Regions from separate parts of the Homo sapiens genome. Here all the other regions are linked to region 1. Evidence: promoter capture Hi-C in human tissues and cell types (Jung and others, 2019). All regions are on one chromosome and are shown on one strand. The core of a region is centred on a gene start or on the middle of the fragment in contact, and the rest is flanking DNA. Distances in the headings are between cores, read along the strand shown. Region 1 holds the start of NDNF (neuron derived neurotrophic factor). Region 2 overlaps PRDM5 (PR/SET domain 5). Region 3 overlaps PRDM5 (PR/SET domain 5).

Region 1 (4,124 bases), core at 399-2,898:
CGGAGGGACAGCTCAGAGACAGCGTAGAGGTGCCCGCGGCAAACTCCGAGGAGCTGATGCGGGGCGGGTCCGGGGAACTGCCGGGAGCTCTCACGCCTGGGCCTGGGATAGGGTGCGGGCAGAAAGGTGAACCGAGAGCGCACAATGCAACGAAACCGCACTCCAAATTCAGCAGTTTGCAAAGTGCCTCCAAGAAAACAGCTGGGACCTGCAATCACTCGTTCGGACTCCTAGGTTATCGGGGCCGCGGCGACTCCGCTCAGTTAGAAAGGTAGCGCGGGTGAGAGCGAACCCCAACTCACGCACAGACAGGACGAGGGCACGAAGCCGAGTCTCCTGGCTGGGGCCGTAGGGGGCGTCACCTCGGTGGCCGCTCTGCTCTCCGGAAGAAAGTATGAGCCGGTCCCAGGCCACCTCGCTCAGCCCAAGGAAGTTTCTATAACGATGCTCGCCTACCACGCAGAGGACAAATGAGGAGCCAGAGCGGTTGGGGGTCGGGCCAACCGAACTCCCGGCCCCGGCTGCGCAGCTCCCAGACGCCCACCAAGAACTCGTGCGCTGCCTGGACCTCTAGCTTTTCGCCCTACACGCAGACGCCCTCTGCAAAACCCCAGTCCCGCAGACTTTCCCTAGCGGCGGGCGGAGGGCATGAACCTGGAAAGGGAGGCAACAGCCCTCTTGGCAGGCGGGCAAAGTAAGTGTCCAGGCTAAGTCCGGGATAAAGGCTCCGCGGCTCCCCAGACCCCACTGCACCCCGAGCTCCCGGGTCCCAGGTCTTCCCCGCCCTTGCGCTGTCTGTCCACCTCCTCACATCTCTCCGGGCCGCCCAGCTTCGAAAGCAGCTAAATTAAAAACAAACAAACAAACAAACAACAACAACAATAAAAAAAAAAAAACGAGGGAAACCTGCTCCTGCCCCTCATGCCCTCAGCTCCTACGGATAGGGCGCCCTTGAGAAGCTTCTTGGGCCTTGAAGATTTGGGGGCGCGTGCCTCGAGCCCCCATCTCGGATGACCCTTCGGGCGTGAACGCTCCTTGTGCTAGGTCTCAGGGTGGCGGGCTAAGGCGTCGGGTCTCTGGGGCATTGCTTTCCTCTCCCCACTTACCTTAAAAAGATCTGTTTTTCGTAGGGAAAATAGAAAAAAATCCCTCCCCGTGGTGTGGTGTGCGAAATAGTCCACGTCCCCGGACCCTGCCAAGATGCTAAGCACCAATATCCAGGAACGAGAAGCCTGGAGGGCGGGGACGGAGGCAGATAAAAGAGAAAAATTCAATCCGCTGAAGTGTCCCAACTTTGCGGTCGGCACAGCAAACTTCAAAGGCGGGCGAGGGCGGGCGGCGCGCGGTCGCCGAAGTTGCTGCGAAGTGGAGTAGGGAGCCGCGCGGGGCTGGGGAATCCCGGGGCAGCGCCGAGAAGCGGCGGGAGGTCCTTTTAAACTGCAGGGAGCGTGCGGGGGCTGGGCGGCGGGAGGATGCCGCAGCGACCCGCGGGGCTGGCGCGGGCTTCGCCGGCCGCCGCTAGTCGCACAGGCGCCTGGCTGGAGCGCCGCGCGGGGTGCTGGGAGAGCCGGGCGCACGGGGCGGCAGCGGCCGTGGCGGGTGCGCTGCTCAGTTAGCTCCACTCTCTCGCGGCTGGAAGTGGGGAGTGTGTGTTCGCTCCCGAGTGTCACTGCTGAAGCCCGGAGTCTCTTCCCCTCCCAGCCCTAACCCCTCCCGCCTCACCGCTGCCCGCCCGCCCCCTCCCTCCTCTGCCCGTTGCCTCCCCCTCCGTCCCTCCTTCTCTCCCTCCCGCTGCGCGCCAGCGCGCACGCACACACACACACACACACACACACTCATACACATACACACACTCACACACAGACACCCTCTCCCTCCTTTTCTCTCTCCCTGTAGCCCTCCCTCCCTCTCTTTCTCTCACACACACACCACCCTGCTCAGCGACCCAGCGCTCCCCAAACAGGACCCTCGCGGGCGGCATCGCGAGGGACACGCTGCTGTCCTAACCTTAGCGCCACTCGGGGAGAATGAAGGAGGCCCACCGAGCCCCCGACAAAGCTGCAAAACCCAGGAGACGCGCACGCGGGACCATCACACTGTCAAGCAGACCGGGGTGCACAATAGAGGGAAACTCTGGGGTTGATCTGGGGGCAGGGAGGGGGACGTGTTAAATCCAGAAGGTTGGTGGTTGGAGGCGGAAAGCAGAGTGTGCAAACTGTGCATTCATGTCCCACTTTTCACCCGAACGCCTGCCTATCACAGCCTTCACTCAGGGAGCGCTTCCCCCTCGGCGCAGACCGAGCCTCCTCCGATTTGAAACTCAGCAGCTGTTTTAACAATTGAAAAAGCGGCCCTACAGGACCAGTGAAACGGAGCAGAGTGTGTGAAGCCATTAAGGCTGACTAGGTAATTATGATAAAAAGTTACCTAATTAGCAACCTGGCCTGGGCTTAGGAAAACCAAGAAAAAAAAAGTACCGAATGATTTGGTGATCTCATTTTTGCAACTGAGAACCTGATTTCCAGCAAACCTGGTTTTATATAAGTTCTAATAATATATAATTATTTATTAAGATATAGTGTCAGTATTGAAAACACTAGTTCTGTTATTGCCACAATGAAATTAAGGTAGGTAGGATGAAAATCAGCCTTATCCCGGTCATATTAAGAACTATGATCTTTTTTGCTAAACAGTTGGTCACAGAGGGTGGACCAATGCAGCTCCTAAAGTTTTGTGGTTCCTAGATGAAAACACTGCAGGAAATGGATTTATAAAACCGTTTACACGACATAAAATAGTTTTGTAAAATTTTTAAACACTGAAAAGGACATTTCAGATCACTGTGCAAGCATATTTTTTGCAGATGAGACAATGAGGTGAGAAAAGTCCTCATTGTATCTCCACTTAGGAGATACGATCTAGAGCAGATCCCTGGGTCATTCATTAACAAAGCTTACGAAGTCCCTGCTGTGTACCAGGTATGTCTTATGTGCTGAGATTTAGAGGTGATGGTGCTGCCTTTAAGGAACTCACCGCCTGGTGAGGAGACAGAGGCATAAATGAAAATGTGATTAGCACTATAATAAGTGCAGGTACCTGGTCCTGTGGAAGCATGGAAAAGGAAACAGCTAACTCCCCTTCAGAAGCTTCTCTTGGTAGAGATTTCAGTGTAGAGTTCTGAAAGACAAGGAAGAAATACAAGGCCAACAAGGATGTGGTGGAGGGGGGAGGGCATTCCACAAACAGAAGCAAGTGAAGAGGTTAGGAAAGTGTCAAAGTACATGGTGTGTCCTGGAAACTAGGAGACTAGGTGCGGCTAGACTGCAGGTGAAGTAAGCAAGGCCAAGCCACACAAGGCTCTCTGGGTGTAAGGAGCCAGAACTTGCCTGGAGGTGGTGAGTAGTTGGGAAACTGTTAAAGGTGTTAAGCTAGGACAGATTCTAAGGTTTGTAAGTATTATTAGATAATGTGTTTTAGAAGGTTTCCTCTGGTTTCACTGTGCAAGACAAATAGAAGAGAGATCACAGTGAGGTTATTTCCAGAGGAAAAATTAGGTCTGAACCAAGGCAGCAGAAATGCTGTTTGGGAGGTTAGGACAGCTCTAGAGATATTTAGGAAATAGAATAGACAAGGCTTAGTGATTGATTGGACATAGAGGGTAATGGAGAGAAGAGAGTCTAGACTGACTCCCAGTTTTCTGGCTGGTGCGCTAAGGCAGGGATGGTGCCACTAGCCAAGAGAAACACACAGAGAGGAGCAGTTTTAGGAGGAATGTAATGAGTTCTGTCTTAAACTTGTGGAGTTGGGGGTGCCTCTGTGACATCTGAGTGCCCTGCCATTTAGGCAGCCAAAAGGAAAGTTCCTAGGAGGGTAGACAGGAGCTGGAAGGATACATTCAGGTGTCTGGCAAGCATGGGGGAGGAGTAAGGCAGCCAGGAAGAGAAGACTTAGGATGGGACATGGCAGACACCAATGTCTTAGACATGGATGAAGGAAGAGGACCCTGCAAAAGAAAGGGATGAACACCAGAGAAGAAGGGCAACAGAGTAGGACCAATGAAGCCAAGGGAGGACAGGGCTAGTGACCAGGGTAGAAAGAGGCAGACAGATGGAGACAACTAGACT
Region 2 (3,992 bases), core at 1,233-3,732, 320 kb before region 1:
CTCGCACCTCAGCCTCCCAAAGTGCTGGAAATACAGGAATGAGCCACTGTGCCAGGCCTTATGGAAACTATTTTTAAAAATCCAAGTGAAAATGCTAGAGATGAAAAACATAATATCAAAAATGCACTCCTTCAATAGGCAGACTGAGCACAACAGAGGTAGAAAAATCAATGAAATTGAAAATATCAATAGAAATTAGAAACAGAGAAAAACACCGAGATTTTTTTAAAAATGCAAATGAAACAAAAATTGAATACGGCACTCAAGAGCTCTGGAACAGTATCAAATAGTCTAACATGTGTAACTGGTGTCCCATAAGAAGACAGAAAGAAAGGGACAAAACAAAGTTGAAAAAAAAATGGCCAAGAATTTTCTGAAATTTAACTAAAGATAGCAGACTACAGATCTAAGCTGCAAAAATACAATGAAAAACACAACTAGGTACAACACAGTAGAAGCTGAAAACCAAATATAAAGAGAATATACTGAAGGAAATAAAATCCACCAGCCTTCACCTCAAACCCTGGTCTCTCCATGAAAGGTCAATGATTAATTGGATTTTGGCAAAATTATCTCCCACATCTGGGGCTCTTACTGCACCCTATAGGCAATAACCAGAGAGTAAATGGCTTTGTGTTCCTTTTGGAAAGCATTCGTGCAGTCACCATAGAATGTAAACCTGGGGGTATAGGCCTGACACAGCATCTTGGGTTGTCTTACCAAAACTTCCTAAAGATGTACCTTACTGAATTAGATAGCTTATTTTTTTTCTGTTGTTGTTAAAATGGAATTAAAAACTTTTAAAATAGGACCAAAAATGTCTGGGAATTAGAGCTATCTAAATGCTCATGTAATGTGAATGCAAAATTGAAACTGAAATGTGTTATGGCCCAAATGTAATAGTATCTTTTTTGAATGGAGTCTTACAAAATGCAAATAATACTGGGAAAATATGACCTTGCAGAGGTTGTTCCTCTAGCACATTTTTTAAATCTCTTTTGAGTTTTAATAATAGTTTGATTGTACTAGCTGATAACCTTAGTAGGCTTTTGAAAATTTGAACTAATATGCAAAGATTATCTGTATTTATTCAATGCTTAGGAAACAGGATTTTCAAAATAAAACTGTCTGGGTAAAATATTTTAAAAATGCATGAAAAAGGAAAATTAAAAAAGAGTTTGAGGTAAAACCCAAAAGGCTTACACATATTTACCCTGTTCCTTGGATCTTCTACTCATTACTCATTGTGGGGGATCCTGCCTAAAATCCTGGGTGCTTCTGGTCTATAAACTCTCTTGAGTTCCCTTAGTCAAAGCCTAGAATTTGTTTTCTTTTTGTGCAGTTAATGTCAGAAAACTTCTGACAAGGGACCATCTGCAGCTGAATACTTTGGAGACAGTGTTGGGATCCTTAAATCGAGGTTCAGAAATTCAAAAGAATATGGGACTTTTAAATTTGGGGTCATTACTGTAATTTGCTTAGTGTGGAAATATACCAGAAAATATATGAGACAGTGGAATGAGAAAATATTCAATTAAATAATAGGCAAAAAAATGCAAATGGTCTTTGTAGCCAGTCTCCCTAGGTTCAAATCTCAACTCTGCCACTTACTTGTTTGTGCCTCAGTTTCTTGTTTTACAAAAATAAATCATAATAACAGCTACCTCATAGAGTTGTTGTGAAGCTTAACTGAATTAATAAATGTGAAGGCCTAAAAGAGTACTGGCATGTAATTAGTGATTTTTGTGTTTATTTTTATTCATCTTAACTATCTGTATTATTCTCATTAATAACTTTATATTAAAATGAAGTAAAAAACAAATTAATTGAATTGGAAATGTCTCACCTTCTTGAGAAAACCCAAAAGATATTTTTTCCTGCAGTGATTTAAACAGCTTCTTCTGTGTTGTAATCATGTCTATCTTCAGTAATCAAGTAAAACAACATCATATGTAAATTTCTGTCAATATCACTAGTTTCTATTAAGAGGAACCAGGGCCCCTTTGCCTTTTTGTCGGCATCTTTTAAATAAATACATTATTGATACATCTGTGACAACTGCTCACATGTAAAATAACCTCCTAATCTCAAGCTAATTTAAACCTCTTTCATAATACTCATTGTGAAATATTTTGGATATTGTACATTTAAATCATACTATTATAAACAGGAATATCTGTCTAATCCTTTATGGTTTATGAAGTACTTTTATATCTAGGAAGTACTCCAATTCCTAATATTCATATAATATGAATGAATATGATACTACAAACTAGAGTGAGAAACCTGCTATAGATTTGCTTTAATAAGTGGAGAAGCTCCCTCTCTTCACCACAAAGACAAAAAGAGTATTTTCTTAAGGGGACCACAGAGGATAGCTTTTACGTGCTGCAGAACTGAAGTGGAAGGCTACAGTATTATTATACCGGGAAGAATATTATTATTATGTGTTTTCTCTAAAATTTTTATTTTATAGCTAAGGTAAAAAGTAAAATCCAGGAGAGGTTTAAATTAGAATTGTTCTAAAGGGGATTAGATAAGTCTCTTAAAATTTGAAAAAAAAAATACATCATTTACATACAGACCATACGCACTTTAAAAGGCCAAACTGAAAAGAAACTGTGAAAGATAATGCAGTGAAAAGTTGTATAGAGCAAAATCAACAATAGCTATTTAAAACAATATAAAATTTCCATGTGGAAAGTTCATTTAAAGTGTCTAATTGTGCTTAAATCGAATAGTGAGCTATGAAATGGTGGGTGATGGTGAGTAAGCTGCTTACATTTTTTTAAAAGCATGTGAAACAGATGCTTGAGTCTGGAAAAGGCATAGATAACAGAATGACAATAGTCCAGTGAGAGTGTTGACAGCAAAGGAACAAAGGGCACCCTGGGAAGAATAAGCCACAGCACTAGGCATGCCCTGTGAAGCACTGAGCTACACTTCCTTATTTTCCACCTGTCCTGGTAATTTATCTGCAATGTCTTTCTTGCAAATATACTTGCTCATCAGTATTACTTAATGGCCAAATGCTGACAAACTTGCAGACTCTATTAAAAAATGTTCCTATTACTGGTGAATATTCTGCAAGAAAAACCTTTAAATATTGTAGTATTAAAATTTTAAAATCTATTTATCTTGAAGTTCATCATTTATAACTCCTGAAAATTGAGTCCTGATTCAAAGAATAAAAACCTTTTTGAGGTTTCAATTTGTGTTTTTTTTCTTCTTTTCTTTCATTGTTTTATCTTTAAAAAAAATTATCCTGAAATATCTGTCATAAATATAGATATACAACTTCCAGTGTATTGCCTTTATTTTGTAATATAAAGTTAAATATATTTCTTTTAAAATAAGTATGGTTTTCATGATCAATATTAATGAAACAGAATATAATCTTACCCTGGTGTGAGTACGAATGTGCATCTTCAGTCCATCATTTTTACTGAATCCTTTTTCACAGTAAGGACATTGATAGGGACGCTCACCTACAAATAAAGGAAGCCTCCATGTCAGAAAAACATGAAGTAGCAGAACCAGTCCTGTGCTATCACTTCTCACACACTCAGATCCTGGCCACCGCATATGCCCTGTGCTACTTCAAGAAGTGGCTCCAGGCACAGCAGGGCAGATCCAAGCATGGGTCGTGCAGGACAGCAGTGGACTGTGGCCTCCCCTCCTGTGGAGAGGGCACTGAGCCCAGAGCACTTCCGATACTCAAAAATAAACATTTGCCAGTAGCATATTTGCTGCATATTCCTTTTAATACTTGAGACCAAATTAAATCTCCTCATTTTAAGAATTTGTTAAAAATATTTTATGTTAATCAATTTGCTCTATCACTGTACTACTCTTTAAAGGGGAATTATTTAACTGATTCATTGACACCTTGTTCTGTTTAATTTTTTTGTTTCATATAAATGAATTTGACTCAGTTAAGGCTGTGAGTTTCAAAAGAATTTCATAAAATTGGTATATGTTCAAAAGGACCA
Region 3 (4,633 bases), core at 1,732-4,231, 340 kb before region 1:
CATGTGACCTACTGTGAGTCATCATTGGCCTAGACGTATCTCCCTGAAAAATTATGGTATCAAAAATAGCCATCTTCAAGGATATGAAAGACTCATATTGAAAATGCTGTTTTGATTTCCTACGATAAAAAGAAACTACAATACAAGGAATTTAGGTAAAAATGTGGACAGTAAGTCTCTCTACATTGAAATTTCCCTTATTATAATGTATTACAAGGGACATGAAATATCTCTTCCTGGTGGCTTTCAAAGTTTTAAAAATATTTCAAAGAAAATAGCTTCTAAGGTATAAGTGAAGGGAAAATGGTGTTGAGGTCCTAGTGGCACCACTAAATGATTTCCTGCGTGGGGTGTCCCCATGCCAGTCATCTTGGTGTGGTCCCAGCAAGAAACATCAGAACAGGAATCCTGAGGACCATGTACTGAGGGAGTCCGGTAGACCCAAGAGATACTGTAGCAGCAACAAGTTGTTATTGAACTCAATGGGAAATTGATACCAGTTTTCTTATGATTTTTCTAAAAGATTAGTTCATTCAATACGGAACATAATACTTTAGAACATCTTGATGGCTGCATATCTAGGAATGAAGAATACGGTTTTTAAGATAAGCTAATTTCCAGTCTTGGGCTGCCTATTAATAGTCATTGTAGTAATGACTACCTGGAATTTGGACAAGCTACTTAAGCTCTCTAAGCCTCACTTCCCTCTTCTGTAACATGGAATATTATATCTATGTCATAGCATTTTGCTTATCTTAATGGTTGGCACATAATATGAACACAATAAGGATATTTTACGTATTATATTAACCTTTCTTCTCTTCACCGTTGCAATATGCATATAAATATAATGTTACCCAAAATTGAAAAAGGCACATGAATCATGTAAATATAACTGGGTAACTTTATGTAGAAATAAAATTATTTAGGAATCTCAACATAGCATAGTTCTTGAAATCCATTAATGGGATCTTCATACAGATAAGTCTTTATCCCAAGATACCTGTGATACCTTAGTAATTAAAATTCTCTGAATAGAGAACAAGATGAACATAAATTTCTGTTCCAGAAAGAAAATAGTTTGGAAATACTGTATTACTTTTCTAAGAATAATGGCCTCATTTCTTTTAAAAATTAATTGCATATTGCCTATCTTTAAAACAAAGAAAAACTCTCTTTATATATATATTTCAGACAGCATGTACTTTCTTTTAAATCCTGAAGTATATTATTAAAGTCTAAAGATAATACAGTGGTGGTGAAGCAACAATCAGCTTCAATGCTAAATATTTATAGAGGTTTATTTTAGCTAAATCTGCAATCTGCTGTACACACACTCTTTGTGGATATACCAAGTTCATAAAGGAGTTTAGTAGACATTCCTGAAACAACTCTACTGTATTATTGTTACAAATGGGGCTGCCCAAGCCAGAGAGACGAAGTTGTTCTCTGACACCACTCTGCCCAGGCCCTTAAAAAAAGAGGTGCAGATAAGATACAAAAGCCCTTAAGAGTTTCCCTTGCAGCAGCTGTGAGAAATAAAGAGACAGGGACTAAAACAGTACTCACCTAAAGCCCTGCTATTTACACTTGAATATTGACTATGACACTTTACAGTCAGTTCAGCAAACAACCTAACAATTTCCCACCGTGTGCTAGGCAGTCAGCTAGACCCTGAAGTTCCGCCCACCATGAGCAAGAGATTTTTACAGGTGTAATTTGAGGGAGAAAGTGACACCAAAAGAGCTCAGTGCAGTGCAATGTACAACAAGTGATGATAGCACAGAGAAGGGGTCCCTCACCCGGCTATGAGATGAGATGGTCAGAAAATGATGGAGGAGGCAATTTCAATTAAACAGAGGTCTTCTTTTTTTTTTTTTTTTTTACAAAAATTTACTTATGGGTAAGAGGCCAGGCAGTACAGCAGAGAAGGAGATGTCAGTTAAAGCAATAAAACTAACAAAAGTCTAGAAAAAGAATGGTATAATTTTGGGCTGGCAAATGAGACTGGAGAAAAATCTGCTTTATATTTATTCCCTTGTTTTTAGTAACAGAAAGTAATTCTATTTAGTGTGGCAACAAGCTTAAGAAAAGATGATAATTCCGGAATTCCTCACCGCCAAGTGTGGTCATGTGGAAGTTGGTGGGTAGGACTTCCAGAAAGCTCCTTAGTGGAAGTGTAATCAGCAGGGGCGTATCCTGTTACCTTCTCTTGCCTCCTCCTTCCTGTTGCCTGGAATGAGGATGTGATGGCCAGAGTGGCAAAATCCATCTTGAGTCACACTGGAACCTTGACAATGGAAGCCACATGCCTGGATGACTTTGTGGAAGTGTCAAACTATCCCTGGAATGCCTACTTCTGCACACTTATAAATAAACCCCTTCATGTTTAAGAGACATGGCTGGGTCTCTGTGATTAGCAAGGCAAGGAATTTCTGACACCAAGCTGGTTGAAAATATTAAGGGTATAATTCTGTGAGTAGGTGACAGAAGTTGTAATGGTTCCTATAGCTAAGATAGTTAAGGAACTGTGTGTCTGATGAGGTGTTCAAATTAATGTTGAACCATCTCAGGATAAGGGTAGGCATTTGGGTGGCTTAAGAGGAGCTCCTGCAGTCTTTACCATATGGAGGTCATCTAAAAGACTGGTAGCTGAACATAAAAAAGGGAGAATTTGCAGGGTCTATTATCTATTGTTTTATTCTTAAGACTGAATATATTATACACAGTTCATATGATCATTAGGAAGATTTCTTGATTAGAATATAAGTACTTAACTCAGTACATAGTATATAATGATCAATAAAAAGTTACTCATTCTAAAATATACTTCTTAACATCTAATATTAAGTAATCAGATAATATTATTTGTTTTATGCACTTTCAGAAACTTTGTCCTTTTCACATTAATAAAGATCCACTTACAAGATCTCCAATTTTACAGAAAAGATAGACAAATTCCAATAGTAATAACAATATAAATTCCTAACAAGTAAATTTTATATTCATTGTAACTTATCTCTTGAAATCAGATGTATTGCTTGAAAATAACTGATCTCTGAGGTTGTTACCTCAGGACAATACAACAGGTTACTTCACAATAAAATTTTTTAAACAGGTAATAATTTTATATAACATATTACTAAAAATAAAAAACTATAAAAACTAAAAAATGGTATAATACTCCTGCTCTCTAACCTAACCTGTTATTCAGTTTCCCTTTAATTTCATGACCAAATGAATTTGAGGAAAGATAATGTCATCGAAGTGCTTGCAGAGAGAGAAATATTCCTGCTATAACTAGCTATACCCAGTCTTTACGATATTTTGACTTAAATTCCCTCATTTTTAAATAAAGGGGTTGGATCAACTGACCTCTTATATGCTTTGCAGCTGGGATATTCTGTGACTCTAGACTGCACTCAAAATAGGTCACAAATAATGAAGACATTTTAGAAATGTTGTGCATTGTATTTTGTTCTAGCTAGTAATAGCAAATACCTACAGCCTTAGCAATTGTTATAGTTTTACTAGTCTCAACCTACAAGACCATTTGTGTGATATAAAAGAAAAAAGATATGAAAGAAAAATAGGTAAGTTCAAGGGATAGACAGAGCTGCTTGGACTGAATATTTTCTTTATTTCATAGGTTTGTGTTTCAGTAAAGAGGGAACACCTAGTCTTATTGTTCATTTTATTACTCCATTCTCTCACTGGGAAACAAATGAAAGCCTGTTCTGACTTACTGTTATCAACACAATCAATCCTATCTTCCTGTCCCAGCACCTGGGACTCCTCACAGTCTTGCCATGCCTGCCTGACCCCCACCTCATGCTCCAGTTCTCAACAACGCACACCTTGGGCTCTCTCCTACAGTGGGCTTCTCACCCACCCACAAATCACAGCTTCACATCCTTGCACACGACACTCAGTTGGTTTGCAATGCCCTACCCCCAATCTTGTTCCTTTTCCTAGAAAACTCAGACTCATACTTTCTGATCCAATTCAGACTTCCTCAGTGGACCCTACCTGGTCTCCCTGGGGCAGAGCCAGATGCTTTGTTTTCCATGTTCCAATGTTGCCATCACACATGGTTCTCTTTCACTGTAAGAATATCTAATGCAACAATGCCAGCTTCCCACTCCCCTTCTGGGTATGCAGAGAACTCCAGGTGGCTGAGACCAGGTTTTAAACACACTGTCCTTTCGATGTTAATAATGTTAATAAAGATCTATTTAGAAAGTCTCCATTTTTACAAAAAAGATATATAAATACCAATGAGGATGAGGATAAAATCATACAACATGCAGTTATATTGTGGAAAGACTGAATGAATACGTGAACTAAGCTCTAAGAAAAAAAGAAACAGAAGAAAAACAATGACACAAAAGTAAAAAAAAAAAAAAACAAAAAAACTGGGCTAATATAATTAATGTACCAGTAAAGTATGCCGATGGCAGAGGTGGCAGGGAAGAATGTATAAAAAGTGAGACCTGACCAGGAGAGGGACTGCTTTATTTGTAGCCTCAAAAAGTATTGAAGTGGACCTAGGCAAGCATGGTCATCCTTAGGAGAAGGACACATGGTCCAAACTGGCTGAGGCCCAGAGTGTCCAGGAGGAAGGGGGCACGGG

What was found. The method cuts DNA at HindIII sites, captures the fragments that hold promoters and counts their contacts. A contact is called where the count stands out against the background at its distance.
Region 2: a fragment that was not itself captured here is called in contact with the fragment with the promoter of NDNF in region 1 in 1 of the 25 tissues and cell types used here (IMR-90 fibroblasts).
Region 3: a fragment that was not itself captured here is called in contact with the fragment with the promoter of NDNF in region 1 in 1 of the 25 tissues and cell types used here (heart right ventricle).

The regions. Positions count from the first base shown.
Region 1 is chr4:121,070,887-121,075,010 of GRCh38, forward strand. It overlaps NDNF (neuron derived neurotrophic factor), which reads right to left and starts at 1,649. Exons shown (of 4, transcript NM_024574.4): 1 at 1,107-1,649. It overlaps NDNF-AS1 (NDNF antisense RNA 1), which reads left to right and starts at 476. Exons shown (of 3, transcript NR_187407.1): 1 at 476-694; 2 at 2,864-2,978. The HindIII fragment of the contact is 5,612 bases long and covers 1-4,124 here.
Region 2 is chr4:120,751,151-120,755,142 of GRCh38, forward strand. It overlaps PRDM5 (PR/SET domain 5), which reads right to left. Exons shown (of 16, transcript NM_018699.4): 14 at 3,403-3,488. Among named protein-coding and RNA genes, the nearest start is that of PRDM5, 170 kb to the right of the region's middle. The HindIII fragment of the contact is 7,591 bases long and covers 1-3,992 here.
Region 3 is chr4:120,729,501-120,734,133 of GRCh38, forward strand. All of the region lies in intron 14 of PRDM5 (PR/SET domain 5), which reads right to left. Among named protein-coding and RNA genes, the nearest start is that of PRDM5, 190 kb to the right of the region's middle. RefSeq lists a silencer at 4,568-4,633. The HindIII fragment of the contact is 5,804 bases long and covers 80-4,633 here.